Linked DNA regions of Homo sapiens: region 2 is linked to region 1. Evidence: promoter capture Hi-C in 16 types of primary human blood cells and fetal thymus (Javierre and others, 2016). All regions are on one chromosome and are shown on one strand. The core of a region is centred on a gene start or on the middle of the fragment in contact, and the rest is flanking DNA. Distances in the headings are between cores, read along the strand shown. Region 1 holds the start of LINC03030 (long intergenic non-protein coding RNA 3030). Region 2 overlaps PAK1 (p21 (RAC1) activated kinase 1).

Region 1 (4,973 bases), core at 2,434-4,933:
CCTAGGTGAGTCCCTGTATACTCATAATAAGTATGGTATAATAGAGTCCTGGTTATACTGTTTTCTGACCATGTAGTATGTGTACGATGGGGACACCCTTCTATGGGTGTTTCTTCTAGCATGGTTAAGTGGGGTAACAACAGTAAAACAATGTACAGTATATTCATATCTAGTAAGGACAGAAGAGGTCCTTATTTGGGAGAGGAGGTTGAGCACAGTGACAGAACAATAGTAAAACAGTTAATATTACAAGGAAAACTACTAGTTCTAAGATTTCTAACTACATTTACTTGCTTGATGAGTCCTCAAGCTTTGGCCGTGCATAGACTAGTCAGCTTTCAGTGTGTGACTAGAGCAGGGCTTGTTGTTTCCTCAAACTTCAGCCATGCGTAGGCTGGTTAGCCTCCGGAGTGACCAGAACAGGGCGGTCGTCTTCGGCAGCAGTTTGGTCCCGTCTCAGGATCAGCCGAGTTGGATGATCTGGGTCCTGCTGGCTGGTCCACTTGTCTTGAGTTGTCAGTTTCAGCCGACTGTGGTGGATCCAATGCACAACACCTGCAACTTTAACAATAGTGGGAGTGGGTAAGATTTCAGTATAGGGCCCATCTCATATGGGTCCTAGAGAAGTTGGAGTCCACTTTTTAACCCAAACAGAATCTCCTGGTTTAAAGGGGTGTTCTGGGTCTGTTAGACTTATAGGCATTCTTTTCTGTACCCAGCCATGGATCTCTTGCATGGCTATTCCTAAAGCCTGCATTTGTTATGTTTTGTTTTCTTTTTTTTTTTTTTTTTTTGAGACAGAGTCTCGCTCTGTCACCCAGGCTGGAGTGCAGTGGTGCGATCTTGGCTCACTGCAGGCTCCGCCTCCCGGGTTCATGCCATTCTCCTGCCTCAGCCTCCTGAGTAGCTGGGACTACAGGTGCCTGCCACCACGCCCGGCTAATTTTTTGTATTTTTAGTAGAGATGGGGTTTCACTGTGTTAGCCAGGATGGTCTCGATCTCCTGACCTCGTGATCCACCTGCCTCGGCCTCCTAAAGTGCTGGGATTACAGGCGTGAGCCACCACACCCAGCCACATTTGTTTCCTTAAAGTTAATTCCCCTAGTTCTCAGAGGTTTCCTTTAATTTGACTTAGGATTGGGGGAGGCTGACTGAATAAAATCTCATAGGTTGAATACTGAGTTTGTTTGGTGGGGGTGCACCTGACGTGGAAGAGGACTATAGGCAAAACCTGATTTCATTTCAGATGAGTCTTTTGGCAATATTTCTTCAGTAGCTGCTTGAGTGTGCGGTTCATGCATTTTACTTTTCCTGAACTTTGTGGCCAATAGGCTGTATGTAACTTCCATTTTATTTTTAACAGTTTTGTTAAATCTTGCATTATTTCAGCTACAAATGCCAACTTATTGCCTGACTCTAAAGTTAAAGGCAGTCTAAACCTGTGGATAATATCTCTTAACAGTACTTTAGTCACTTCTCATGCTTTTTCTGTTTTGATGGGGAAAGCTTCAACCCACCCTGAAAAGGTGCAAACAAACACTGGCATGTACTGATAGCCTCCAGCATGGGGCAGTTCGGTAAAGTCTATAAGTAAGTTTTCACCAGTAGTAGCTGAACTGAAACCGGGAGCAACTCCGGTCTGGGTTCGTCAGTACCCAGTTCCCCAAAAGGCTGTACAGGGTGTCTGCAAACATTTAGAACGGCTCTATAAATATGGGATCTTAATCCGATGCCAGTCCCCCGGAATACTCCACTTTTGCCAGTATGAAAGCCGCTGCTGGGACCAAGGTCTGATGAGTAGATACCGGTGCAAGATTTGCATGCCGTAAACCGGGCCATGGTGACCATCCATCCCGTGGCACCAAATCCATATACTTTAATGGTACTTATTCCAACAAGTGCCACTAGGTTTACAGTCTTAGACTTAAAGGACGCTTTCTTTTATATTCGCTTAGCACGAGTTAGCCCATATTTGCATTTCAATGGGACAAGGAAGCTATGCAACTCATGTGGACTAGGCTCCCACAAGGGTTCAAAAACTCTCCTACAATCTTTGGGGAAACACTGGCTTCAGACCTCAAGGCCTATACCCCGCCAAATGATAACTGTGCTTGTTACAGTACACGGGCGACCTTCTTTTGGCAGCCCCAACCCAAGAGGACTATTATCAGAGAACTCAGGACCTCCTTCATCTCCTGTGGAAAGCAGGTTACAAAGTATCTAAAAAGAAAGCCTAAATTTGCCATAAAGAGGTTAAATATCTAGGTTTCGTAGTGAGTCACGGGGAATGCTGGCTTGGCTATGAGTGAAAACAAGACGTTTGTGCACTACCAATCCCAACCACCCGATGCCAAATAAGAGAATTTTTAGGGGCAGCAGGAATTTGCCCCATCTGGATTCCAAATCTTTCCTTGATGGCTGTGCCGTTATATGAAGCCACAAAAGGAGGACAAAAAAACCCTCCTTTGGGAGACTAATCAGAAAATGCATTCCAACAAATCAAGGAAGCTTTAACTTAGGCCCTAGCCTTAGGACTACCAGATATAACTAAGCCTTTCTATATGTTCATGAACAAAAAGGAATGGCTATAGGAGTTCTGACTCAAGTTGTAAGGTCATAACATCACCCAGTAACATACTGATCCAAACAATTGGATTCTGTGATGCTAGGATGGCCTCCCTGTGTTAAGGCATTAGCCGCCACCACCTTGCTAAACACAAGAGGCTAGCAAATTGACTCTAAGACAGCAGTTAACCATTCGGGAGCCACACTCAGTCATAACTCTGATGGACCGACTCCCAGTTCCTGTGTACCTAATTGGGGTGACGAGCCACTATCACCATCTCCAGTTTCCTTAGTTGGGGTGGCAAGCCATTCTCGCCACCTCCAGTTTCCTTTTCCTAACCAACTTAGTGAGCCACTCTTGCTTCCTGTGTTGATTGGGGTGAGAGTTTCATCCAAATTGACAGCCGCTCTCATCGCCCCCAGTCCCTCTGGGTCGGACTATTAGGCATACCCCGGGAGGTGATCAGGCTCCCTTTCCGTCCTTACAGGATGGGTCCTGCCTTGGGCCCCAAAACCTTACCATGATTCCTGAAGTGCGCTGTTTCTAGAATCATCCTGTAGCTCCTCTCAGGATCTGTTGCGCTGCTGGGTAGGGGTGCTGGGTCACGGAGAGCTGATTTCCCCTCTGGGCTGAAGTTCTCCCGGCGGCACCTGGGGTCACAGGTCTCCCTTGGCCCAGGGCTCCAGCCCCCTATAGGCAAAGGAGACAGTAAGCCTGTCATCTCCACTCCTGGCTGGCTTGCCAAGAAATGTTGCAGGAAACTGAGGAATGGCGAGACCAATATGAGAGTACAGGAAGATATTTATTTTTAGGTACGCACTGGCTGAGTGGATTTATATCCAAAAACCTGAGCATTAAACAAAGACAGAGCAGGGTTTTTATAAGTGGACTTACAAAAGTAAAACAAAAGCAGTTAATCATATAGTGCATAACTTGTGGCCTTGCATAGCTGGTGGCCTTGGAGCTGTGTCAAAAGAAAATCAAGAACTGGCTAAATACAGACATTTGTAAAACATAATCATGCTTAAGAAGCCAGGGAAAGAAGTAACAGTAAAGGAATTTGTCTTTCTCTTTTTTTTTTTCCTTCAACCTTGTTCTGGAGGGGAGGGATGTCTGCAGCCCATTCCTTTGGCCTTGGCTTCTCAAACAGCATTATCTTATAACTGTCCTTGAAGTGAGCTTGCTAGGCCGAGGAAAACTTGTTCTTTTCTTTTTAACCCTTGCCTTGCCTGTTACTTTTCTTGGAGTGAATGAATGCATATTTATTTTTAAATTTCTGCCTCAATCTCAGCACTTTGGGAGGCTAAGGTGGGTGGATCACGAAGTCAGGAGATTGAGACCAGCCTGGCCAACATGGTGAAACTCTGTCTCTACTAAAAATACATAAGTTAGCCAGGCGCGGTGGCACCCTCCTGTAGTCCCAGCTACTTGGGGGGCTGAGGCAGGGGAATTGCTTGAACCTGGGAGGTGGAGGTTGCAGTGAGCCGAGACTGTGCCACTACACTCCAGCCTGGCAACAGAGGAAGACTCCGCCTCAAAAAAAAAAAAAAGAAAAGAAAATGGTTAAAATGGAAATTGTTATGTTTATTTTACCACAGTTTTTTTTTTTTTTTTAAAGAAATGAGCTATCAAGCAAAGCAAAGACATGGATAAATGTTGAATGTATATCAGTAAGTCAAAGAAGCAAGTCTGATGGCTTTTTACTATATAATTCTTTTTTTTTTTTTTTTTTTGAGACGGAGTCTGGCTCTGTTGCCAGGCTGGAGTGCAGTGGCATGATCTCGGCTCACTGCAACCTCCACCTCCTGGGTTCGAGCGGTTCTCCTGCCTCAGGCTCCCGAGTAGCTGGGACTACAGGGGCCTGCCACCATGCCTGGCTAACTTTTGTATTTTTAGCAGAGACGGCGTTTCACCATGTTAGCCAGTATTGTCTCGATCTCTTGACCTCGTGATCCACCCGCCTCAGCCTCCGAAAGTGCTAGTATTGCAGGTGTGAGCCACCGTGCCTGGCCGTGATTCTACTTATATACATTATGAAAGGTAAAACTACAGAGATGAAAAACAAGTTGGTAGGAATTCAGTAAGGAGGATTGAATAGGTAAATCACAGGACATTTTAGGATGGTGACATTATTTTGTGTAATACCATAATGATAGTGACATGATACATGACACCTTGCATTTGTCAGAACCCTTAGAACCTAAAGTATGCAAATTTAAAAAAATCATTTAGGAGCTCAGATAGATGATCCCAAGATGAAATAAAGAACGTGACAAAATAATCTAACTGTATTATGAACAAAACTCAATGAAGGAAATGGGAGAAAATTGCTGACCTAAGTAACTTTGGAAATGGGTGGATCCTGTAAAACTCAATGCAAAAGGAGTACAGACTAGGGAGCAATAT
Region 2 (4,612 bases), core at 839-3,338, 230 kb after region 1:
GTAGGGGCCAGATCATGAGAACTTTGAATGTTGTACTGAGAAGCATTTCTAGGCAACCAGGAGCCATGTAAGTTTTTGAACAAGGTTATCAAATGTGTACTGTGGGGGAAAATTAATCTGGCTACATGTACAGGATAACTTGACATCCCTTTTGAGGGTTCTAATCCTGATTTTGCTATTGAATAGCTATGTATGCAAGTCACATCCTCTCTGAAACACAGTTTCCCCGTCTGTTGAATCATTAGTAATATTTAGCACACAAGGTGTCTTTGAAGATTAAATGAAATAACAAATTTGAGAACACCTTATAATAGTACCTTACACATAGAAGGAATTGATACCAAGTACCTTAGAAACTAACGTATACCATATATTCATGTTGTCTGGAAATTTGTTTTTATTTCTGTAGATAGAGCTCTCATCCTCCTTTTCTCTTCTTTCTTAACCTGATCAACTCTGATTTATCTTTCTACGCCAGGTTCAGAAAGTCACTTCCCCCTTTATGAAGCCTCTATACCTAGCCAGATTGAAAGCATTCTTGGCTTTTGCCGTATTTTATGTTTCGCTAGCATTTTGTATGAGCCTCTGTTATAGCATCTCTTTTCTGTTGTGACTTTTTAAAAGTATTTTTCTACACCAAAGTTTGATTCTGAAACTTTGATGTGTATCACAGTGACCTGGAGGACTTTTTACATCACAGAGCTTCTGATTTAGTAGATTTGGGGTGGGACCCGAGGTTTTTATTTCCAACAAGCTCCCAGATGATGATGATGCTGGCTTGAGACCTCACTTTGAAGACCACTGGTCTACATAGACAAACTGTGAATTACTCGAGGGCTAAGACTGTATCTTACTCATCTTTGTTTCCTGAGTACTTAAGGTCTGGTACTTAGCAGGTGCTCAATAAATGGGAATGACTATGGTTGCACATTGAATATACTCTTGATTTCAGGTGGCCATTAAGCAGATGAATCTTCAGCAGCAGCCCAAGAAAGAGCTGATTATTAATGAGATCCTGGTCATGAGGGAAAACAAGAACCCAAACATTGTGAATTACTTGGACAGGTATGGAGTGGTGGGTCCCATCAGAGGGAAAGGGCCTTTGGGACTGATTGGTGGTGAAGCTGTTAGAGAAGAGGGCAGTGCCAGCCCTCAGAACTGCCTCCATTTATGAGTCTTCTGTGATGCTGAGCTCTCTGTATGTGACCCTGTGTAATGCTGGACACCTTTTTTGCTGGGAAATCCTTCTGTGTTAGGCTGAACTCTACCACCGTGTAGCTTCTAACAGTTGATCCTCGTACTGTTTGTTTTGCCTAAGGGAAACCTACCAACCCATCTGCCTGAGTCAAACATCTAGGTCCTTAACTCATTTTACATCCCAAATCTTTCCTTATTCTGCTCATCCTCCTGAATAACTTGTTGTTTGTTTATGTTCTCTTAAAATGCAGTGTGCAGAACTAGATGTTTCATTTGAGATCTGACCACTATGGAGAGAGTGGGACTCTTTCTAAACTCAACACAGCTTAATGATTTCATTCTTGTTTTATCTTTTAGGTTGTCTGCTTTGACTCCCAGTAAGTTTGCAGTCAACTAAAATTTCTGATTTTTTTTTTTTTTTTTACGTAAGCTTGCATTAAACTGGAAATGTGGAACTTTTTCACTATCTTCATTAAGTCCCATTTTTATTATTTTAGCCCATCATTCCAGCCCATCAAAATTTTTTTGCAAAATAGTAATAGTGGTTGTATATAATATTTGTATTGTGCTTTACTTTGTACCAAGCACTTTCATGAACAGTATCTCATTGTGAGGTAGGGTTTTTTTATCCATATTTTACAGACAAGGAAACTGAGGTTTATAGACGTTAATAACTTGTCCAAGAGTAGTAAGCCATAAAACAGCAAAGCAGTGTTTTGAATTTGAATATTCCTAGCACCAATATCTAGCACCTTTCTATTTTATCATGTTCTTTTCTCCGATACCTGAAAAAAAAAAAAAGTTAAGCTTCTTGCCCAGGGTTCAGAGACATCGTAGGTGGAGGTGAAATTGGACTAAATCTTGGACTCTAATTTCTTTACCTCTTATATTGCATGACCAGCTACCTCTTCCTGTTACTGGTAGATTTCATAAGGGCGCCTTCTTGTTCTGCATCTAAAACACTAGTAAGCTTCAGTTTCCTTAAAGAAGAAAAGAGTTGAACTTTGACATTCCCAACACTATAAAGAATAAAGCCTTCTTCTTTGAGATGGCTGTGTCTCCTTAATGTGGGTCCTGACTGGCTCTGAAGAATCCTCTGAAAGTTAGTACCTTATCATCTCTTTCAGAACTTATTATACAGAGAATATAGCTCATGCAAACTACTGAAGGCGACAGGGGTATTAGATTTTGGTTCAGGATATGGAAAAATGAAAGCTGTCAGTAAGGGTATGGCCTGTCTCACAAAATGGTGAGTTCCCCATCAGTGGATGCATCTACATGATAAAACGATGTTATTGAAGGAATTTGTGTTCTGGGAGTAGGATTAAGAGACTTATAGATTTGTTTATTAATCATATCTTTACCAGTATTCCCAGAGACTTTTACTCTGGAAATTAGAAGTAAATAATGCTATCTTTGCCCTCAAATAGTTCCTGGTCTGGTATAGAAAAAAAAAAAATACCTCTGTAAGGTCATGGAAGAGGACATTAACCTGAGCATTCAGTGAAGGTGTTGCAAATGAGGGTCTGTGGTTTTTGTGAGATGTCCCAGAGGGGAACTCCATCACATATGGATGAACTCATGGGCAGAACCCTCATGATGTAATCACCTTCCAAAGGCCCCACCTCCTAATAACATTAGTGATTAGATTTTCAACATATAAATTTTGAGGGACACAAACATTCAGACCATAGCAGTTCAAATCCCCATAGTCTTCTCTCTCAAAAGAGATTGTTGAAGAAACACTTAGTCTGTCATGTTTATTAGTCAGGACATTAAAAAATTATAAATCAGAACACAGAGTTTTATGGAAAGAGCTGTCGATTAGTAGTCAAAAAAATAGGATTCAAATCTTACCCTTGCTTGATTGCATTTGTTAAAATCTTCCAACAGTCTCCACATCTGTCCAGCAGTATTCCCAATATCAGGATGAAGATAAGATGATACCACACAGTTCAAGCCAATGCAAGAAATGTTTTTTTCCAATCCAGCTTCTTTGTCCAAGACTGGCAGAAGACTTTAGGGCTCTAGGCTCGCCTTGTTTTTATTTGTCTGATTCTATAGTAAGGAAACATTGACCAAATAGGCTAAGTGACCTTTTTATTTATCGTGTAATAGGGTTGAGTGATCCAACTCCTGAGTGAAACTATCACTTCTAACTCATGTCAGCCCATAATCTCTCTGGGGATATCTTACTAAATGGTAGTCTTGGCTTATCAGAAGGCTTTGGCTCCATAAGCCCTTGCTAAATTCATTCCATTCTTGAACCACAGACACTCAAAGTAGAGGTCAATTGTCAGCATAATGACTATGTATACAACACTTTGCAGCTTTTAAGGGGCTCCTATAAACATTATTTCGTTTAATATTTATAGTTATCTTTTATTTTTTCAGTGATTTATTTAGTAAATATTGGCATCTGCTGTGCTGGACTCTGAGGATAGAGTCTTGAACAAGACCCAATACTTGGTCTCATAGATCTCAGATCTGGTAGGACTCTCTGGGAGGTTTAGTAGCTCTCTCTTCTTTGGGTAACATGGACTCTAAATCCTATCTTTGTCAAATGTTTGGATGCTTCTAGAGGTGTGGGAATCATGTCAGTCTTTCTAATTTTAGGATGTCTTCCTTTGTGTTGTGATGAAATATAATTTTATTGTATCACTTCAAGCTAGAGATCTTAGTTCTGCCCTTTGGGGCTTCACAGAACATGTATACTTGGTTTTCTCCAGGAGCATCCTTGAGAGATTCAAAGTTAGTGATTCTGTTCCCCAGATTCTGCTTTTCCCCAAAGTAAAGAACCTTTTACTTTACTTTGTGCTAAGACGTAGTTTCACTCTGTGTATATGCTTAGCCTTTGAAACCCAGTGCTATGGCTCAGTGTACTCTGATTGTTCTCTCTCACCCTTTATCTGTATTCCTGCAGTTACCTCGTGGGAGATGAGCTGTGGGTTGTTATGGAATACTTGGCTGGAGGCTCCTTGACAGATGTGGTGACAGAAACTTGCATGGATGAAGGCCAAATTGCAGCTGTGTGCCGTGAGGTAAGGCCAAGGGCCAAGCAGTCTTGGGTAGAAAGCTGCCTCCATATTCCTGTCTCCTGAAGTTCCCTGTACAGTGAGATCTCAGCCTGGGCTCTGTGGAATTGGTAGAAATTAGTGCTGACACTGCTATCATTCCTGTATTGTACCTGTGTTTGTCATTTCTATCACCATGATTTTTTTTTTAACGATAACTTTATTCTACCCATTGTAGAAAAATTATAAAGTACTAGAAAGTATATATTGTAAAAAGTCACTCATAATTCCAGTCTTAGAGATAACCACTTGCCTAAGCACGTTATAATATATTCCTTTATCTCTTTTATCTGGGCATATATTTCAATCATTTTTATTCTGCTTTCTTGCTTTATTTATGT

What was found. Contacts are between HindIII fragments. The CHiCAGO score rates a contact against its expected background, and 5 or more counts as called.
Region 2: a contact is called between a fragment that was not itself captured here and the fragment with the promoter of LINC03030 in region 1, in 1 of 17 cell types (M1 macrophages). The highest score is 6.1, in M1 macrophages.

The regions. Positions count from the first base shown.
Region 1 is chr11:77,569,799-77,574,771 of GRCh38, reverse strand. LINC03030 (long intergenic non-protein coding RNA 3030) reads right to left here and starts at 3,683. Exons shown (of 3, transcript NR_130930.1): 1 at 3,462-3,683; 2 at 3,087-3,257; 3 at 1-561. The HindIII fragment of the contact is 9,547 bases long and covers 2,512-4,973 here.
Region 2 is chr11:77,340,272-77,344,883 of GRCh38, reverse strand. PAK1 (p21 (RAC1) activated kinase 1) reads left to right here. Exons shown (of 15, transcript NM_002576.5): 10 at 953-1,065; 11 at 4,121-4,238. Among named protein-coding and RNA genes, the nearest start is that of GDPD4, 41 kb to the right of the region's middle. The HindIII fragment of the contact is 163 bases long and covers 2,007-2,169 here.